Linked DNA regions of Homo sapiens: regions 1 and 3 are each linked to region 2. Evidence: promoter capture Hi-C in human tissues and cell types (Jung and others, 2019). All regions are on one chromosome and are shown on one strand. The core of a region is centred on a gene start or on the middle of the fragment in contact, and the rest is flanking DNA. Distances in the headings are between cores, read along the strand shown. Region 1 overlaps ATG2B (autophagy related 2B). Region 2 holds the start of AK7 (adenylate kinase 7). Region 3 overlaps AK7 (adenylate kinase 7).

Region 1 (3,064 bases), core at 473-2,972, 40 kb after region 2:
GAATGCAGTGGCACAATCTCGGCTCTCTGCAACCTCAGCCTCCCAGGTTCCAGCGATTCTCGTACCTCAGCCTCCCGAGTAGCTGAGACTACAGGCCCATGTCACCATGCCTGGCTAATTTTTTGGGTTTTTAGTAGAGACAGGGTTTTACCATGCTGCCTAGGCTGGTCTTGAACTCCTGAGCTCAGGCAATCTGCCCACCTTGGCCTCTCAAAGTGCTAGGATTACAGGTGGGAGCCACCATGCCCAGCCCAGTATGTATTTTTAAATTGTTTCTTAGTGGTTGCTCTAGGGCTTACTATATTCATTTTATCAGTACAGTCATGTGTTGCTTAACGACAGGGATATGTTCTGAGAAATGGGTCATTAGGCAGTTTTGTTGTGTGAACGTCATAGTGTACTTGCCTAAACCCAGTGGTATAGCCTACTGTATACCTAGGCTATAGGGTACAGCCTATTGCTCCTAGGCTATACACCTGCACAGCATGTTACTGAATACTGTAGGCAACTGTGACACAATGGTATTTGTGTATCTAAACATAGAAAAGGTATGTACAAATATGGCATAAAATATAAAAAATAAAAATTTTAAAAAGATAAAAATTGATATGGCTGTATGGGGCACTTACCATGAATGGAGCTTGCAGGACTAGAAATTCCTCTGAGTGAGTCAGTGAGTGAATGTGAAGGCCTAGGACATCACTGTCCACTACTGTAGACTTTATAAACACTGTACACTTCGGCTAGAATAAACACTGTACACTTCGGCTAGACTATATTAATAAAGACATCTTTTTTTTTTCAATAATAAGTTAACCTGAGGTTACAGTAACTTTATAAACTTTAAAAAAATTTTTGAACTTTTTGTTTCTTTTGTAATAACATTTAGCTTAAACACACATTGTACAGCTATGCAAAAATACTTTTTCTTTATATTCTTATGCTATAAGCATTTTTTTGTATTTTTAATTTTTTTTTTTAATTTTTAAACTTTTTTGTCAAAAACTAAGACGCAAAAAAACACAGCCTAGGCCTACACAGGGTAAGGATCATCAATGTCACCACCTTCTACCTCCACATCTTGTTCCACTGGAAGGTCTTCAGGAACAGTAACATGCATGGAGCTGTCCTTTCCTATGATAACAATGCCTTCTTCTGGGTACCTCCTGAAAGAACTGCCTGAGCCTGTTTTACAGTTAACTTTTTTTTTTTTAAAGTAGGAGTATACTCTAAAATAATGATTAAATTGTATAGTATAGGTATTAAAACAGAAGCCGGTAGCATAGTTGTTTATTATCACCCTCGAGTATTATGTACTGTGTATAACTGTTTGTGCTAGACTTATGACTGGCAGAGCAAGAGGTTTATTTACACCAGCATCACCACAGACATGTGAGTAATGTGTTGTGCTACATTGCCTTATGATGGCTGCGATGTCACTAAGGTGATAGGAATTTTTCAGCTCCATTATAATCTTACAGGACCACTATCCTATACATGGTCTGTCATTGACCAGATGTCCTTCTGTGATGCATAACTTTATTTCCTTCAGATAATCATGGGGCTTTAAGTGTTACTTTTCTTCTGGATTGTGTTGTAATTACAATTATTGTTAAGTGTATAGTTGATCAAAACAGTATAAATTTATGCATTTTGATAAGCATAAAAATTTTTTTTTCTTTTTTTTTTTTTTGAGACAAGGTCTTGCTGTGTCACCCAGGCTTGGGTGCAGTGGGTGATCACAGCTCAACCGCAGCCTTGACCTCCTGGGATCAAGCGATTATCCCCACCTTAGCCCGCCAAGGAGCTGGGACTACAGGCACGGGCTACCATGCCATCTAATTTTTTTTTTTTTTTTTGAGACGGAGTCTTGCTCTGCCGCCCAGGCTGGAGTGCAGTGGCGCGATTTCGGCTCACGGTAACTTCCGCCTCCCGGGTTCAAGTGATTCTCCTACCTCAGCCTCCCGAGTAGCTGGGATTAAAGGCGTGGGCCACCATGCCTGGCTAATTCTTGTACTTTTAGTAGAGACAGGGTTTCACCATGTTGGCCAGGCTGGTCTCAAACTCCTGACCTCAGGCAATCTGCCTGCCTCAGCCTCCCAAAGTGCTGAGATTACAGGCTTGAGCCACTGCGCCTGGCCAATTTTTGTATTTTTTGTAGAGACGAGTTTCACCATGTCTCCCAGGATGGTCTCAAATTCCTGGACTCAAGCAATCCTTCTGCCTCAGTCTCCAAAATTGCTGGGACTACTGGCATGAGCCACTGTACCCAGCAAACATAAAAACTTTTACTGGAAATAAATTTCTTAATGATAGAGGTTGGTTGTGATCCCCTCCTCCCTAATTTGTTAGTGCATCCATAGGTGAATATACTTATAGCTGGAATTCAGCAGGGCTCGGCACACATTTTATTCTAAATTAAAATGTAGATACAAGCTTGAGAAATACTGATGTTATAAATCAGTAGATGAGAATTGAGAGATTTTGCAGGAGCAACATCACTGAGTTCTTTGAATTTCTGAGTGTCATGCCAAAAAAAGTATAAGATGGGAAAAGATAGAAAATGTACTGCTGGCCCTGTCTGGAGGTTTTTATACCTTAGACAGTACATAAGGGAGAATTTCTGAAGAGAGGAAGAATATGGCTATTTTGGCTAAATGGGAGAAGGAAGATTGTACAAGGAACTATGGGACAGGAGACCCAGCATGATGCCACCACTGTCTGTAGTCTTCTCAGTCCATTTTAGGAAAGAATATGTTTGGATGCTTATACCTTAAAACCATCCATGCCCATGTACTACTGGGAAAGTCTTTAGGATTATGCAAATGTCAGCATGAAGAAAGCCTTTTAAAGTAGTGATCTCCAAAAATAAAACGAGCCGATCAAGTCTCACTATTCAACACTAGGGTACAGACAAAGAATTATACTACCCTATGCAATATAGCATGCAGGAAGCACTTTACATATAAGCTGGCGTTTAATAAATATGTTATTTTAATTTGAAAAGTAAATTGTCTTTTAAAAATCGCATTTACGTTCTTTCTGTCTGTCTCCTGTTGTAGTC
Region 2 (3,461 bases), core at 755-3,254:
ATGTCACCATTTTTTTTTTTTTTGAGATGGAGTTTCACTCTGTTGCCCAGGCTGGAGCGAAGTGGTGCAATCTCGGCTCACTGCAACCTCCGCCCCCTGGGTTCAAGTGATTTTCCTGCCTCAGCCTCCAGAGCAGCTGAGATTATAGGCGCCTGCCACCACGCCCGGTTAATTTTTGTACTTTTAGTAGAGACAGGGTTTCACTATGTTGGCCAGGCTGGTCTCGAACTCCTGACCTCAGGTGATCCACCCACCTCGGCCTCCCAAAGTGCTAGTATTACACCACGCCCACCCTAAATCTCTGTTTTTTGATGGATGCATTTTAGATGGTACACTGGGTTAAATAGCGTCTACCCCCACCAAATTCCTGTCCTCTTAGAACCTGTGAATGTGGCCTTATTTGGAAATAGGGTCTTTGCAGATGTAATCAAGTTAAAATGAAGCCATATTGGATAGGGTGAGTCCTCATCCAACAACTGGTGTCCTTATGAGAAGAGGGAAGTTTTGACACAGAGACACAGGGGAGAGAACACCATGTGAAGAAGGTGGCAGAGATTGGAGTCTACTGCCAAGGGGTGCCAAGAATTATTGGCAACTACCAGAAGCTAGGAGAGGGGCAAGCAACAGTTCTTCCCCTGGAGCTTCCAGTAGAAACCAACCCTGCTGACACCTTGATCTTGGACTTCTGCCCTCAAGAACTGCGAGAGAATAATTTCTGTTTTATAAGGTCATCCAGTTTGTGGCAATTGGTTACCACAGCCCTAGAAAACTAATACAGATTGTACGTACTGTAGCCTCATCCTATTTTAAGCAGATTTGTCCTGTTCGAAAGTGCAGTCATTAGCCTCAGAGAAGTCTGTCCAGGGTGAGATTAGATTTCTCTGTAGCTCTAGAGGACAGAATTCAGATGGACGGGTCCTACCCACAGGGAATGATAAAATCATGGCTTTCTTTTGACAACTGATCATATTAGCATGAAGGGCCCCAGAGCCCTTTTTCTGAATATCTTCATTTTCCAGGGATAAAGACACAGAAAGGTGAGGAAACTTAATGGAACTCGGGGACCCAAACAGTGTCTGGTCCATAATAGATGCTCAAAAACCATATATTGAAGGGATGGATGAATGAAAAACGCTTCATGGGCAATATAAAAATTTGATTTACTCACGCCTGTAATCCCTTTTGGATTTACTCGGCCTGTAATTTGGGAGGCCGAGACGGGTGGGTCACGAGGTCAGGAGATCGATCGAGACCATCCTGGCTAACACAGTGAAACCCCGTCTCTGCTAAAAATACAAAAAATTAGCCGGGCGCGGTGTCGGGCGCCTGTAGTCCCAGCTACTCGGAGGCTGAGGCAGGAGAATGGCGTGAACCCGGGAGGCGGAGCTTGCAGTGAGCCGAGATCGCGCCACTGCACTCCAGCCTGGGCGACAGAGCAAGGCTCCGTCTCAAAAAAAAAAAATTGATTTATTTTCTCGTTTAGCTGCCTGCTTCAAAATCGATGGAAGGGTAGAAAGAGAACCTAGGAGGGGGCAAGAGACCTGGAGTCTCTGTCCAGGTTCTGGCCTCAACTCTCTATGTGATCTTGGGCAAGTCCCTGCCTCTTAGCCTCAGTTTCCCCTCATTAAAAGGAGGAACAGGGGATGGACCAGTGATTTCCAGACACCTGAGCTTCCATGTAGAATCTCTTGACCAGCCTGGGTGCGGACTGGGGTCCAGGGGGCATTGGTGGTGCCCAGGACGCGGGACCCTCCCTGAGGAAAGGCCCCGACAGCGCCCTGGGGCGCAGACCCTCGCTGGGTTTGCGGACCGGGGGCCGAGGGCTGGGAGCTGAGAGCTGGCGTGAGGCTCTGGGCCGCCGCCGCCGCTCACCTTCCCGATGTTTCCGCTGCTGTAGGAATCCAACAGGTTTATAAACACCCTCTGGGTCCGGATAACCTTCTCCGTGAGAGCAGCAGTTTCCTCTTCTTCAGCCATGGTGGGAGCCGCGCTGGTTGCTAAGGTGAAAGCGCCACTCGCTTGCCAAGGAGGCGGGGCCCGGGCCAGGGAGGCGGGGCAGGTTCTCTCTGGGGGCGGGGCCTTGGCTCCGGGCAGTTTGCCGGGCGGGGAGGGGCGTGTCGTGGGCGAAGCAGGGAGTGCCGGGCGGGGCGGTGCGTGTCGTGCCCGGCGCTAATCAGGGCGTGCCAGGCGGGACGGGGCAGGCTGTGCCGGTCGCTGGGCGGGGCGTGCCGGGTAGGGCGGGGCGAGTCGTGCCGGGGGGTTGGGCGGGGCATGCCGGGCAGGGCGGGGTGTGTAGTGCAGTGGGCTGGGCGGGGCGCGCCGGGCGAAGCGGGGCTCAGGGCTCGCAACTGCGCGCGCTGTCGGCTGCTGGGCGCCAGGCGGATGTCCCTGCGAGTGCTTTCCGCGGCGCCGCGCGTGCAGCCCGGGTCTCACCCTGGCTTGCTGCCCACTGGGAGCCCTTGGGCAGTGCATGGTTTCTTTCCGAAGCTCCCTGGGCGTCTGTCCCGGGGGGCCATGTGATTGCTGTGCCTTTTTAATCTCCATTGTTCGGAAAGTCTGGAAACACATCCCTGTGTCCGCTTGACCCGATGACTAAAAATAATGAGAATTCTGAAGAAGAGGGAATGGCCCACAGCCTAGGCCTCTCCCCGACACGTGGGAGTTACTCAGCACGCTCCCATGGGGTGGTCTGGCCGGGGCGACGGGACGTAAGCCTCAGCTGCGAAGAAAAGCTGTTGCCATGGAGTTTCGGGCTCCCGAACACCCGAGCGACGCTAGCGTGGTCCCGCCTTGCGGCAGGTGCGGCTTGGTCCGCCGGCTCAGCTCCCTTGGGGGTTGTTTCCAGACGCACGTTCCGGGAAGACCCCTGGTGTCGGCTGGGGGCGACCAGAGCCCGTAGGCGCCCGGGATTCGCTCACATTCACCAAGGGAAGAAATTTAGACTTGACCGTTCCACAAGAGATTATACATGCAGTTGCTGAGATAAATCCACAAATTAAAAGATAACATTCACCTCGGTGATCACTGGACCATAAAGGTTGTGGTGGACTAAGAATACGCAGTTCCCTTGGAATAGCCTGATCATATTGAACTGTTTTCATGCCTTAAGCATTAACTCCTTAAATGCAAATATTTAACACTTGCAGCAATTGTGTGTGCGTGGTTTCTTCTCGTTCTTTTTATTATTTTTAATAGAGACAGGGTCTCACTATGTTTGTTGCCCAGGCTAGTCTCTAACTCCGGAGCTCAAGAAACTCTCCTGCCTCGTCCTCCCAAAGTGCTGGTATTACAGGCATGAGCCACCACGCCAGCGTTCTTGTTCTTTTTATTTTTAATTTATTTTTTTGAGATGGAGTCTCGCTCTGTCACCCAGACTGGAGTGCAATGGCATAATCTCAGCTCACTGCAACCTCGCCTCCCGGGTTCAAGCGATTCTCCTGCCTCAGCCTTCGAAGTAGCTG
Region 3 (3,177 bases), core at 576-3,075, 50 kb before region 2:
ATGGCCTCCTATAACTTGTTTTTAACAGGCTCTAAGTCCTTCTGTAATGGCAATCATTTCACCCTCTAATTTATGTTTGGACGTAATATGTTAAGGATTAATGCCAAGTAAGTTATATTAATAATGTAAAAGACTCTTCTGTATCTTTGAAACCCAGTAATGTCATAATGTAAAATCTCTGCAGAAAAAAATGGGTATGTTTCGGCCCCTCCATCCCCAGGGATGGAGCAGATCCAGGGTTTTGTAGTGCCTGAAGCTTAGCCCATTTACAGCAAGCTTGTCAAACCAGGGCCTGTGGGCTGCGTGAGGCCCAGGATGGCTTTGAATGTGGCCCAACACACTTTGTAAACTTTCTTAAAACATTATGAGTTTTTGGGCCGGGCGCAGTGGCTCACGCCTGTAATCCCAGCACTTTGGGAGGCTGAGGCGGGTGGATCATGAGGTCAGGAGATGGAGACCATCCTGGCTAACATGGTGAAACCCCATCTCTACTAAAAAAATACAAAAAATTAGCCAGGCATGGTGGCGGGTGCCTGTAGTCCCAGCTACTTGGGAGGCTGAGGCAGGAGAATGGCATGAACCTGGGAGGTAGAGCTTGCGGTGAACCGAGATTGTGCCACTGCACTCCAGCCTGGGCAACAGAGTGAGACTCCATCTCAAAAAAAAAAATTATGAGTTTTTTTTGTTATTTTTTTTAAAGCTCATCAGCTATCGTTAGTGTTAGTGTATTTTATGTGTGGCCCAAGACAAATCTTCCAATGTGGCCCAGGGAAGCCGAAAGATTGGATATCCCTGACTCATAGGATCCTTCTTTAAGAAAAATAATAAAAATTAGGTTCAGGGTCTTGGAAAGGGATCTGCTCAGGGGTGTGGCCCTGAAGTTTAAACTTCCTTCATTTCCCAGTAAGTCTAGAAATTTATCTGAGATTGTGACTAATTTACTAGTGGCCAGTGGATGAGAGAAAGAGTGGGAATCTGAAAACCAGAACCTCAGGGAAGTGCAGAAATTGCTCCTTTCTGGGGATGTGCCACAGGGGTGACAGAATGAAGTCCCCGGAAGCTGGAGCTGATGAACCACAAACACAGTGAACCAACTCATTGACCTCACGTTTAAGTCAGGGTCTTCAAAGGAAGAGAAGGGTTTCTGGACCTGTCTGAATACAGGGTTTAGATGCTCTGTGAGTATAAAAAACATATGTCAACTTTACCTACAACTGTCAAAGAAGGAAAAAGCTTCAGGTTTACAGTTTTCCATTTGAATTCTAGAATTTAAGTTGACGGGTTAGACATATTAATCTCATCTGGGACAAAGGAATAAGAAACTACGTCCTCAGAATGTACACACCAAGTTCTTTCTTTTCCAAAATTGGAGGGCATTGCTATTCTGTCGATAGTTTCTAAGAGATGAACCTGAACTTGTCACCAGAAATGTAGAACTTTTGAACAGTGGGCACTATTTCATTAGATGCAAAATGGAGAAGACGGTACCTTCTGCATAGGGTTGTTACGAAGAATGAACACAATAATCCATGTAAGGGTCTTAGCACTAGGCAAATGCTCAAAAAGTATTAGGCTACAAACAAACACATTAACCAATTCTGTGAAGGTCACGTCTCTGGGCGAATGCTTACCCTGCTAGATCAAGAACATGGATTGTTGGAATTACATTTGTTCCATCGCCAAAAACTGGTAATGCAGGAATCTCGCCCAACCAAGCCATCTGAAAGGAAGAAAAGCAAAATCATGTCCCCCAGTTATATGTGGATGGCTATTACAGCTCACACATAAGTCTACAGTCAGAGGCAACTGAAAGGCCTAGCTATCTGCTTAAGTAATTTCCTCTAGGGGGTGTTTTATAAATCAGCCCTGATGAGATTTAGGATCAAATTCTGCCAAGAGAAATAGTGTGTAGCCCTGGGACTGAATCAAATTCTGCCAAGAGAAATAATGTGTAGCCCTGGGACTGAATCAAATTCTGCCAAGAGAAATAATGTGTAGCCCTGGGACTGAAATACTTTTCAAGAAATCTACAACCTCTCAGCCGTATTTAGTAGCTATACGCATGGCATTCACATAGAGAAGAAATGTTTTCACATGCATGATGTCTTAATTCTCACAAAAAGACAAATTAAAATTTAAAATTACCCCCACCAGTAGGGATGAGGTGAGGGGAAATAAGTACCATCAGTCCAGGGGTGAAATGCTTAGCGGATAAGTAGCATGCAGGAGGATACACTTGTGAGAGCTTGGACTGGAACCCCGATCCTCAGAGTCCAAATCCTCATCTTTTCTTCTCATTAAGTATTTCAGTAACCAAACAGACATGATGAGTACTGTTTAAGTGTCACATATTAGATTATTTTGAATTGTTGTTAAGAGTGAAAGAGGTAGGGGTAGGGGTCACAGTAGACCACTGGGTCTTGTAAGATATTTTGGACTTTCAGAAAGTATTGAAGGGTTCTAAGCAGTGATGTGACACCAGCAGGCTTGCTTTTGTTGCCTTGTGGAGAAGTGGCGGGAAGGAGAGTCCAGTGGGGACAGAGGGGTGATGGCAGGTGTGCAGGCGAAATAGGGTAGCTTAGCCTGGAGGTGGGAAGTGCAGGGAGTGGGGATGGAGAGAAGGGAGACATTGAGGAGGCTGACTGTAGTAACTGGGAATTTTATGATGGGTAATGTGAAAGGAAAATAAACCTTGGGACCCCAAAATCACTAAGCCAAAGGGAAAAGTCAAGCTAGGAACTACATAAAGCAAACCTGTCTCTCATTCAAAGATTTTATTTTGTTTTCTTTTTTTTTTTTTTTTTTTTGAGACGGAGTCTTGCTGTGTCACCCAGGCTGGATGGAGTGCAGTGGCAGGATCTCAGCTCACTGCAACCTCTGCCTCCCAGGTTTAAGTGATTCTCCTGCCTCAGCTTCCCGAATAGTTGGGATCACAAGCATGTGCCACCACACCTGGCTAATTTTTGTATTTTTAATAGAGATGGGATTTCACCATGTTGGCCAGGCTGGTCTCGAACTCCTGACCTCAGGTGATCTACCCGCCTCAGCCTCCCAATATGCTGGGATTACTGGCGTGAACCACCATGCCTGGCCTCATACCTTCCTCACAATTTGCCCACTATGAAATTATCTGTAGGCCCCAAGAGCTTTACCCGAAAACAGTTCTGTTGAATTTCA

Evidence for each region. Contacts are between HindIII fragments. The study calls those that stand out against the background at their distance.
Region 1: a contact is called between a fragment that was not itself captured here and the fragment with the promoter of AK7 in region 2, in 4 of the 25 tissues and cell types used here (H1 embryonic stem cells, adrenal gland, psoas muscle and 1 more).
Region 3: a contact is called between a fragment that was not itself captured here and the fragment with the promoter of AK7 in region 2, in 1 of the 25 tissues and cell types used here (H1 embryonic stem cells).

Annotation. Positions count from the first base shown.
Region 1 is chr14:96,350,531-96,353,594 of GRCh38, reverse strand. The region is part of intron 1 of ATG2B (autophagy related 2B); the gene reads left to right. Among named protein-coding and RNA genes, the nearest start is that of ATG2B, 11 kb to the left of the region's middle. The HindIII fragment of the contact is 9,607 bases long and covers 1-3,064 here.
Region 2 is chr14:96,390,671-96,394,131 of GRCh38, reverse strand. AK7 (adenylate kinase 7) reads right to left here and starts at 2,004. Exons shown (of 18, transcript NM_152327.5): 1 at 1,873-2,004. The coding sequence starts at 1,977. RefSeq lists a silencer at 1,935-2,444. The HindIII fragment of the contact is 16,997 bases long and covers 1-3,461 here.
Region 3 is chr14:96,441,273-96,444,449 of GRCh38, reverse strand. It overlaps AK7 (adenylate kinase 7), which reads right to left. Exons shown (of 18, transcript NM_152327.5): 7 at 1,632-1,720. Among named protein-coding and RNA genes, the nearest start is that of AK7, 51 kb to the right of the region's middle. The HindIII fragment of the contact is 3,117 bases long and covers 267-3,177 here.